2 separate regions of the Homo sapiens genome follow, and region 1 is linked to region 2. The links are contacts of gene promoters, found by promoter capture Hi-C in blood cells and fetal thymus (Javierre and others, 2016). All regions are on one chromosome and are shown on one strand. The core of a region is centred on a gene start or on the middle of the fragment in contact, and the rest is flanking DNA. Distances in the headings are between cores, read along the strand shown.

The links. Contacts are between HindIII fragments. The CHiCAGO score rates a contact against its expected background, and 5 or more counts as called.
Region 1: the fragment with the promoter of SRRT here is called in contact with the fragment with the promoter of ZKSCAN1 in region 2 in 1 of 17 cell types (neutrophils); the score reaches 7.8 in neutrophils.

What each region holds. Positions count from the first base shown.
Region 1 is chr7:100,872,593-100,877,493 of GRCh38, forward strand. It overlaps SRRT (serrate, RNA effector molecule), which reads left to right and starts at 2,511. Exons shown (of 20, transcript NM_015908.6): 1 at 2,511-2,736; 2 at 2,981-3,120. The coding sequence starts at 2,999. It overlaps TRIP6 (thyroid hormone receptor interactor 6), which reads left to right. Exons shown (of 9, transcript NM_003302.3): 8 at 32-152; 9 at 580-862. The coding sequence ends at 711. RefSeq lists enhancers at 1,396-2,060, 2,061-2,726, 2,303-2,352, 2,563-2,622 and a silencer at 2,763-2,992. The HindIII fragment of the contact is 10,507 bases long and covers 1-4,901 here.
Region 2 is chr7:100,013,201-100,017,750 of GRCh38, forward strand. It overlaps ZKSCAN1 (zinc finger with KRAB and SCAN domains 1), which reads left to right and starts at 2,396. Exons shown (of 6, transcript NM_003439.4): 1 at 2,396-2,526. RefSeq lists a silencer at 2,482-2,651. The HindIII fragment of the contact is 19,683 bases long and covers 1-4,550 here.

The DNA of each region.
Region 1 (4,901 bases), core at 1,261-3,760, 860 kb after region 2:
TGATGGCCTTCTTGGTTCTCTTCCCCTGCAGGAAGTTTGCCCCAAGATGCTCAGTGTGCGGTGGGGCCATAATGCCTGAGCCAGGTCAGGAGGAGACTGTGAGAATTGTTGCTCTGGATCGAAGTTTTCACATTGGCTGTTACAAGTGCGAGGTCAGGGGCCCCCAGCACGTGCAAGGGGCTGGCAGTGTCTAGGGTGCTGGGTAGAGCATGAGGGGGAACACAGAGGTCTGGGGTTGATGGAAACCTGTTGCTTCTTTCTTTTTTTTTTTTTTTTGAGACGGAGTCTTGCTCTGTTGCCCAGGCTGGAGTGCAGTGGCACAATCTTGGCTCACTGCAACCTCCACCTCCCGGGTTCAAGTGATTCTCCTGCCTCAGCCTCCTGAGTAGCTGGGATTACAGGTGCTGGCCACCATGCCTGGCTAATTTTTGTATTTTTAGTAGAGACAGGGTTTCACCATATTGGCCAGGCTGGTCTTGAACTCCTGACCTTGTGATCCTCCTGCCTCGGCTTCTCAAAGTGCTGGGATTACAGGCGTGAGCCATCGCGCCCGGCCAATTGTTGCTTCTTTTTCAACAGGAGTGTGGGCTGCTGCTCTCCTCTGAGGGCGAGTGTCAGGGCTGCTACCCGCTGGATGGGCACATCTTGTGCAAGGCCTGCAGCGCCTGGCGCATCCAGGAGCTCTCAGCCACCGTCACCACTGACTGCTGAGTCTTCCTAGAAGTACCTGCTGGGTTCTCAGTTCCAGTTCCCATCCTTTGATTGATCACTCTCCCTGACATCCACCTGTATGACTTTGTCACCAAATGCTGTCTTCTCTTTCTCCAATCAAGAAATAATAATCCCTCGAGTTTACAAAACACTTCCAAGTCTGTTGTCTCATCTGATTCTCCCAGTAGCCCATTACAGGCCCAGTCATTGTTACTGCCTGCATTTTTTTTCTTTTTTTTTTGAGACGGAGTCTGGCTCTGTCACCCAGGCTGGAATGCAGTGGTGCCATCTCGGCTCACTGCAACCTCTGCCTCCCAGGTTCAAGTGATTCTCTTGCCTCAGCCTCTTGAGTAGCTGGGATTACAGGCGCCCGCCACCACGTCTGGCTAATTTTGTATTTTTAGTAGAGACGGGGTTTCACCACCTTGGTCAGGGTGGTCTTGAACTCCTGACCTCAAGTGATCTGCCCGCTTCACCCAACCAAAGTGCTGGGATTACAGGCGTGAGCCACCGCCCTTGGCCACTGTCTGCATTTTTACATGTGAGGATGTCAGAGCTGAGAGGTGACTCCCCCAGATTGCATGGTTCTTAAATGGTGGAACCTGGGTCTTTTTGACTCAGGTCCAGTTTTTTTTGACAACTCTTGTAATCCGTCACTACCCTCCTCTCAGTGCTGGGAGCAAGCACGCCTCAGGGAGGAGGCAAGATTTCCTCTATGTATCTATTTTGAGACAGGGCCTCACTCTGTTCCCCAGGCTAGAGTGCAGTGGTGCAATCAAGGCTCACTGCAGCCCTGAACTCCTGGGCTCAAACAGTCCTCCTGGCTTAGCCTCCCCAGTAGCTAGGACCACAGGGGCATCCCACCAAGCCCAGTTATTATTTTTTTGTGTGTAGATGGGATCTTGCTATGTTGCCCAGGCTAGTCCTGAACTCTTGGGCTTAAGTCCTCCCTCCTCGACCTTCCCAAGTGCTGGGATCACAGGTGTGAGCCAATGTGCCTGGCCCTAAATATTCTGTAAAGGGGCCTTGCTATGTTGCCCAGGCAGGTCTCCAACTCCTGGGCTCAAGTGATTCTCCCACGTCGGCCTCCCAAAGCGCTGGGATTGCAGGCGTGAGCCATCTCAGCTGGTCTTCCTATTAAGTCTCACACTCAATTCACTGAGAGGGGCCTTGGTGTTACTCCCGGGGGTGGTAATCCATTGAATCTGGGCGGTCCATACTCTGTTTAGGGCGTTAACTTACAGCCTATTTCATCCAAATACTGAGCGGGGTTAAGACTGAGATCTGCCAATTTTACTTAAAGACGGGGCGTCTTTGTCGAGGAAAAGCAGGAACGGCGGACTTTGCATTTAGTGCGCACTGTGGCACCCAATTTTGGCTGGATATTTGGAGCAGAAAATGGTGGGATACGATGCTTTAAAATGGTTGCTTCCACCTTCCATCCCCTAAGCGCCCGCGCTTCCCAAGCCCACGCCCTGCCCGAGGAGGGGACGAAATCACCCCCGGTGAGGTCAGGAGGCCCGTGGGGGGAACATGGCTGGATGAGAACCGTCTTAGGACCCCGACACATCTGGGGTCGCGCGATCCTCGACTTCCGCTCTCCCTTCGCGCCCAGAGGGCTTGTTCGCCTCCCGAGGCCGCGCTTGGCCCAGCCGAGGTCCCGTAGTTCCTAACGCTCGAGCCGTTATCGTCTCGAAAAGCCGCGCGAGACTTGCGAGATCCCCGCCCCTTTCCCATCACGCCCTGCTCTCCCCGCCCTTCGCGCTCGGTTTGTTAGTTCCAGTTCCGGCCGCGAGGGTGGAGCTTTGTGCCTCGGAGGCGTGGGTGACGCAGGCGCAGCGCGGGCTGCGCGCGCTACTGCCCATCCCCGGTTGTCCCACTTTTGTTCGCCTCTCTTCGGCCCTCTACTCAAGAGCTCCGTCTCCGTCTCGCCCTCCTCGAAGTCCTCGTCGCGCGCCCGCGACCCAGGTCGCCCTGAAATCTAGCCCGTCCGAGCGCGAGTCCAACGGCCGCGGCCGCACCAAGGTGGGGGAGGGGAGGAGCCTGGGGGGCCCCGCTGGGGCGGGAGAGGAACCGGGGTCCACGGGGGCGGGCGCGGAGAAACTCGGGGCGAGTGGAGGTGTTGGAGCCGCGTTCTCAGGCCTAGGATGGTGGGGGCCGCGGAGGGCTGGCCTTGGCGGGAGGGAAGCGGGCGAGCTGCCCGCGAGGGACGGTCCCTTCCTCCGCTCGTCCTTTTGCACCACTCCTACCGCCTCTCCCCGGTCCCCAGGCCCCCTCAGACCGTGCCATGGGTGACAGTGATGACGAGTACGATCGAAGGCGCAGGGACAAGTTCAGAAGAGAGCGCAGCGACTACGACCGTTCCCGCGAGAGAGATGAAAGACGTCGAGGGGACGATTGGAATGACAGGTGAGCCGTTTTTAACTTCATCTTGTCCCCGTTTCATGCCGTTTCACTCCACCCGCGTCGCTTTTCTTTCTCCCCCTTGTAATTTTTATGAGGGCGAATCCTATGAAATGGCTCATTGGACCGTTTTCTGTGGTTCAGCCTATTTGCTGTTGGCCAAATAACTAGCTGTGGCTTGGTTTTTGAAATTCTCTGCAGATCAGAGCTATAGAGCTAAGAGTTTGAGTATGAAGAAGCACTGTTTATACATGCACGAAAAGCGTGCTTTTTTGCTTTTTTTTGTTTTGTTATTGAGATGGGGTCTTGTTCTGCTGCCCTGGCTGGAGTGCATTGATGCAGTCGTAGCAGCCTCCACCTCCCGGGCTCAACCGAGCCTCCCGCCTCAGCCTCTTGAGAAGCTGGGACTCCAGGGGGAGGCCATCACGCCCGCCTAACTTTTAAAAATTATTATTGTTATTTCGAGACAGAGTCTTGCCCTGTCGCCCAGGCTGGAGTGCAATGGCGCAATCTTGGCTCACTGCAACCTTCGCCTCTGGGGTTCAAGTAATTCTCCTGCCTCAGCCTCCCGAGTAGCTGGGATTACAGGCACCTGCCACCACGCCCGTCTAATTTTTGTATTTTTAGTAGAGACGGGGTTTCACCATGTTGGCTAGGCTGGTTTGGAACTCTCGACTTTAGGTAATCCACCCAGCTCGACCTCCCAAAGTGCTGGGATTACAGGCATGAGCCAGTGCTTGGTCTAAAATTATTTTTTGTAGAGACAGCGTCTTGCTCTGTTGCCCAGGTTGTAAATTATATTTTAGGAGGATTGCTTCAGAAAAATAATAATATAGAGTTGATCTGACTGGAGAGGTCGTCAGATTATTTCCCTGACAATATATGATTAGGTTTCTTGTCACTGTTTTGCCTAAAATCTCAGAGTTCATAGGGCGGTGCTGATTGGATTGATTATAAGATGTGGTTATTGACCTTAGGGTGTTACAGTGAGCTTGGCATGGGGGATCAGAATGGCAGTGGATGTATTCTGTAAATGAGTATATATAGTGGAAGTTATAAAGAGGGTAAGCATTGAGGGAACAGATCTCTAAAGGAGGGGAGCGGTGCTGGAGGTTGTGTGTCAGGGACCCACTGGAAAGTGACACTTGGCTAGACTTGGAAAGATGAGTGGGAATTCCCCAGACACGAGTGACATGAACAGCTTGGAGTTGTGGACATAACGTGTGATTTTAGCATATTCTAGTTTGGTTAGAGTCCTGTTTCTCAGGATGTCCACAGACCATAGGGGGTCTCCGAGGCTAAAATTAGTTTTTGTGGTAATGTTTACATATTATTGCCATTTCCACTGTTGGTGCCATAGCAATGATGGGTAAAACCGCTGATGCTTTACCAAACATCAAGGCAGTGACAGCAAAGAGTTAAAAAAAAAAAGCCAGCCGGGCCCAGTGGCTCACACCTGAAATCCCAGCACTTTGGGAGGCCGAGACGGGCAGATCACGAGATCGAGAGATTGAGACCATCCTGGCCAACATTGTGAAACCCTGTCTCTACTAAAAATACAAAAGTTAGCCAGGCATGGTGGTGCGCGCCTGTAGTCCCAGCTACTTGGGAGGCTGAGACAGGAGAATTGCTTGAACCCAGGAGGCACAGGTTGTAGTGAGCTGAGATCACACCCCTGCACTCCGGCCTGGCGACAGAGCAAGACTCTGTCTCAAAAAAAAAAAAAAAAAAAAAAGCCACTTCCATCAATGATTCTTGATGAAAGAGTAAAACATTTAAATTTGATT
Region 2 (4,550 bases), core at 1,146-3,645:
ACCCCATCTCTACTAAAAATACACAAATTAGCCAGGCATGGTGAGTGCACACCTGTAATCCTAGCTACTTGGGAGGCTGAGGCATGAGAATCACTTGAGCCCAGGAGGCGGAGGTTGCAGTGAGCTGAGATCACGCCATTGCACTCCAACATGGCAACTGAGGGAAACTCTCTCAAAAAAAAAGAAAGAAAAGAGGCCAGGTGCAGTGACTCACACCTGTAATCCTAGCACTTTGGGAGGCCGAGGCTGGTGGATCACTTCCTGCCTCTGCCACCCCTGAGACAGCAAGAGCAACCCTTCCTCTTCCTCCTCAGCTTACTCAGTGTGAAGACGATGAGTATGAAGACCTTGATGATGATCTATTTCCACTTACTGAATAGTAAATATATTTTCTCTTCCTTAAAAAACAGTGTTCACATGATATGAATGTAGCAGATACTTCCAGGATACCAGCCTCCTCTTCAATACAACTGCAACTATGGTTTTGAACAGTGTTTAAAATAATATCAATAAATATTTATTTGTATATGAAAACAGGAAAAAGGTAAACTAAAGCCATGGGGATTGTGTTAGGGTGGAGAGATTACCGGTAATTATTTTTCTCCATTTTGCAAATTTCCTTTAATGATACTGTTGTTGCTTCTTTTTTGGATACAGAGTCTAGCTCTGTCCCCAGGCTGGAGAGCAGTGGCACGATCTCGGCTCACTGCAGCCTCCGCCTCTGGAGTTCAAGCGATTCTCCTGCCTCAGCCTCCCAAGTAGCTGGGACTATAGGCGTGTGCCACCACGCCCAGCTAATTTTTGTATTTTTAGTAGAGACGGGGTTTCACCATATGGGCCAGGATGATCTCAATCTCTTGACTTCGTGATCCACCCACCTTGGCCTCCCAAACTGCTGGGATTACAGGCATGAGCCACCGTGCCCGGCCCTTTTTTTCTTTTTTGAGATGGGATCTTGCTCTGTGGCCCAGACTGGGGTGCAATGGCACAATCATAGCTCACTGCAGCCTCAACCTCCTGGGCTCAATCTATCCTTCTACCTCAGCCTCCCAAGCAGCTGGGACCACTGGCACACACTACCCTGCACCCAGCTAATTTTAGTATTTTTTGTAGAGAGAGGGTCTCATTACGTTGCTTAGGCTGGTCTCCAACTCTTGGGCTCAAGAATCCTCCCGTCCCAGCCTCCCGAAGTGCTAAGATTACAGGCTTGAGTCATCGTGTCTGGCCCTGTCATTGCTTTTTAGTTTTCAAACATTTTTTAAAAAGTAAATCTGGCCGGGCACGGTGGCTCACGCCTGTAATTCCAGCACTTTGGGAGGCTGAGGCGGGTGGATCACAAGGTCAGTAGATCGAGACCATCCTGGCCAATATGGTGAAACCCTGTTCTCTACCAAAAATACAAAAATTAACCAGGCATGGTGGTGTGCGCCTGTAGTCCCAGGTACTCAGGAGGCTAAGGCAGGAGAATCGCTTGAACCTGGGAGGTGGAGGTTGCAGTGAGCCAAGATGGTGCCACTGCACTGCAGGCTGGGTGACAGAGCGAGACTCCATCTAAAAAAAAAAAGTAAATCTCTCCAAGCAGTAAGAGTCATGCAACCAAGCTACTGAGTTTCTCCCATGAACTTGTCTCGGAACATAGTGGAAAGTCACAACCATTAAAGCCTGTAGTCCCCCCCACCCTTGCACAACGTGGCCCCCTCTTATGCGTGCCTTACCCTGCAAGGCAAAGATGAAGGCTGTAACTGTGGTAGGTTGTGAAAGCACTTTGAAGGTAAAAGTGTCTGTTGTTACTCTGAAAACTCCTTTTAAACGGCTATAATAGCATATGCCACATGAGCAAAGCACAGAACCTTATAACTATGCTTGCTTGTGGAAAGACATCCCTTGTCCACGGGCCAAGTATTTGAAAATACCACTCCATATAGCTCCAGGGCCCTGAGAGAAGCTACCGTGGCAGCTTTGGGAAACCAGCCACCCTTGGCTTCACTTTGATCTTCCTCAGTCTACATCCTTGTTTCAGTTCCTTTGCCACAGACATACAATTACCAAGTACTATATTGCTTGATAATAACTATAATTACTACAAGGACTGCCTGAGATGAAAAAGACAGGTGAAATCGAACTTTCACATGGACTGGTGTCTGAGCTGGAGAGTCTGTTTGAGTTTGAGTAGGGGAAAGCCTGAAACCCCCCACCACCTGCTCCCGTTAGTCCCTGCATTAACTAGGGGCGGACTGGGACCTGATCCTCCAAGCTGGAGGCTTGAAAACTCAAGGGCAGGCGCCTGGTCCAGCGATTCGGAAACCGAGATGCAAAGTCCTCCCGCGCTCCTAGAGAGGACCCGGAAGCGCGGCGCGGTCCCGGAAGACGAGGTGGTGACACGCTTCCGGCCTTTGTGACTCATTGTGTCTGTGTCGAGGCGTCGGGAGGGCCTAAGTCCGTGTGCGGTGCCCTTCGGCCGGCCTGAGCCCCAGAGTCAGCTCCCCTTTCTCGCCCAGCGCCCCCAGGCCGCTCCCGGGGCTCACGGTGAGACTTGGGGCCGGCCTCTGGGGTGGGAGGGCGGGGCCGCAAGGGTGTGTGCGCGAGGGTGGGCTCCGCAGCTGCGGCCCTGGGACCCCCTCCAGGCGGCCCCGCTGTTGTGCGAAGAGAGTCCATGCCCCTGCCTCCTGGCCGGGCCCGGCCGTAGAAAGCGCCGTTCTTCCTGGGAGACGTCCCCGCCCCACCCCCAGGATCAGGCGGGGAGGGGGCGAGGGTTTCAGTGGCTGAGGGTGCCCGGAGACCCGGGGAGAAGCCGTCTGTGGGCCCCTCTCCCGCAGTGTCGTCATCGCCCTTTGACGTTTCTGCAAACGGGGTCGCGAGCGAACCGACCCCGGTCTTGATTTTTCTGCTCTCCCTTAGTCGCCATTTGCTTTGATTCCGGTGAGGTGTCTTTTTCCCCCCCCGGTTCCTTCGGGACCTCGAGGTGAAATGAGCGGAAGGATGAGAGATGGACACATTTTGAGGTGCCGCATACGTTTCCAGACCTGCCTTTCCTTCTCCCACCCTCATCACTGAGCGGTGATTAAAGAGTATTTGAAGCCTAGTCATAGTGGATAAATAGGTGATTGGGATCTAGTAGAGATTATATACACCCCACTCTTTCAGCTTGATGGAATGCTTTGAAGGCTTTGGAAAAGAGCTGTCCGGGACGTTAGGTGGATTTTTCAATTCTGGATAGTTGCTCTGTTTGACATGGAGTGGGGTGAGAAGTGAAGGGAATTTGTGGAAATTGCACTGTGTCACTAGGAGACTGATTAGCTGAGTGACCTTGGATAAGACGAGACACTCACCAAGTCTTAATTTCGTCATCAATAAAAACTAACTGGATTTTCTCAAAAGGCCCTTCCGACTTCGAAATGATTTGGTCAATGTAATTGAAGAATTAACTACAGTTTAGCTTGACACTCCTCCATCCCTCCCCTCCCTTTCCTGCAGTGCCCCCTGTACACAGTAAGATACTTTCATTATAGAGAGTGGCTGTTCCATGGCCTGGGACCAAAGAAAGCATTTATTGTACGGGCCAGTGCTAGGCGGATTGGAGGCGGTCAATAAATACTTGTTGAATTGAATTGTGGAGAATTCATTGTAACCACATCAGCAAAGCACTGTTAGTATATATGCTGAACAAATGTGGAGAAATCGCTGTTTTACATAGGAAACCATGGTGATTTGCCCCAGAATGTGTATCCAGGTTTGTATCTTCTCTGAATTAACATATAAGATTCTTGTTTATTATTTCAGGCAGTTTTCACCACTCTTAAAATACAAACGAGGAAGCTAGCTACTTAGTCTTTTGCTCATTCTCGATTTAAAAGCATTTAAAATACAGATGAATAGCATATTAAATCTAACATTTTCATTCTGTGGGAGTATCAATATTCTTTGAATAGCTAGCTGTCTTTTAAGGTAGCTTTTTCATATTAAAACATTTGATTGCTCTTTAAAAAAATGAGTGTAAAGGGCAAAGGGCAATTTATTTAAAAAAAAATTTTTTTTTTTTTGAGACAGAGTCTTGCTCTGTCGCCCAGGCTGGAGTGCAGTGGTGCGATCTCGGCTTACTGCAACCTCTGCCTCCCGAGTTCAAGCGATCCTCCTGCCTCCGCCTCCCGAATAGCTGGGACTACAGGCATGTGTCCCAAGGCTTGGCTGATTTTTGTATTTTTAGTAGAGACAGAGTTTCGCCATGTTGGCCAGGCTGGTCTCGAACGCCTGATCTCAGGCAGTCCGCCAACCTCAGCCTCCCAAAGTGCTGGGATTACGGGCGTGAGCCACTGTGTGCCCAGCCTTTGTTTACATTTTCAAGACTATGCCCTGGAAAAATACTGGGCTGTTTGGAACACAGCCTTTGAGCTTGTAACTTCAAGCCGTTGTTTAAGAAAATCATTTCTGTTTATCCTAGGTGAGAACTGAGGTATCCTTAGCTGCTGGAGGTAATTTTATTTAAAGTGGATGGTATGTCAGTATGTTTTTCAGCCCATATTCACCCAGAGGTAGTTTCCTACTATCTGGAA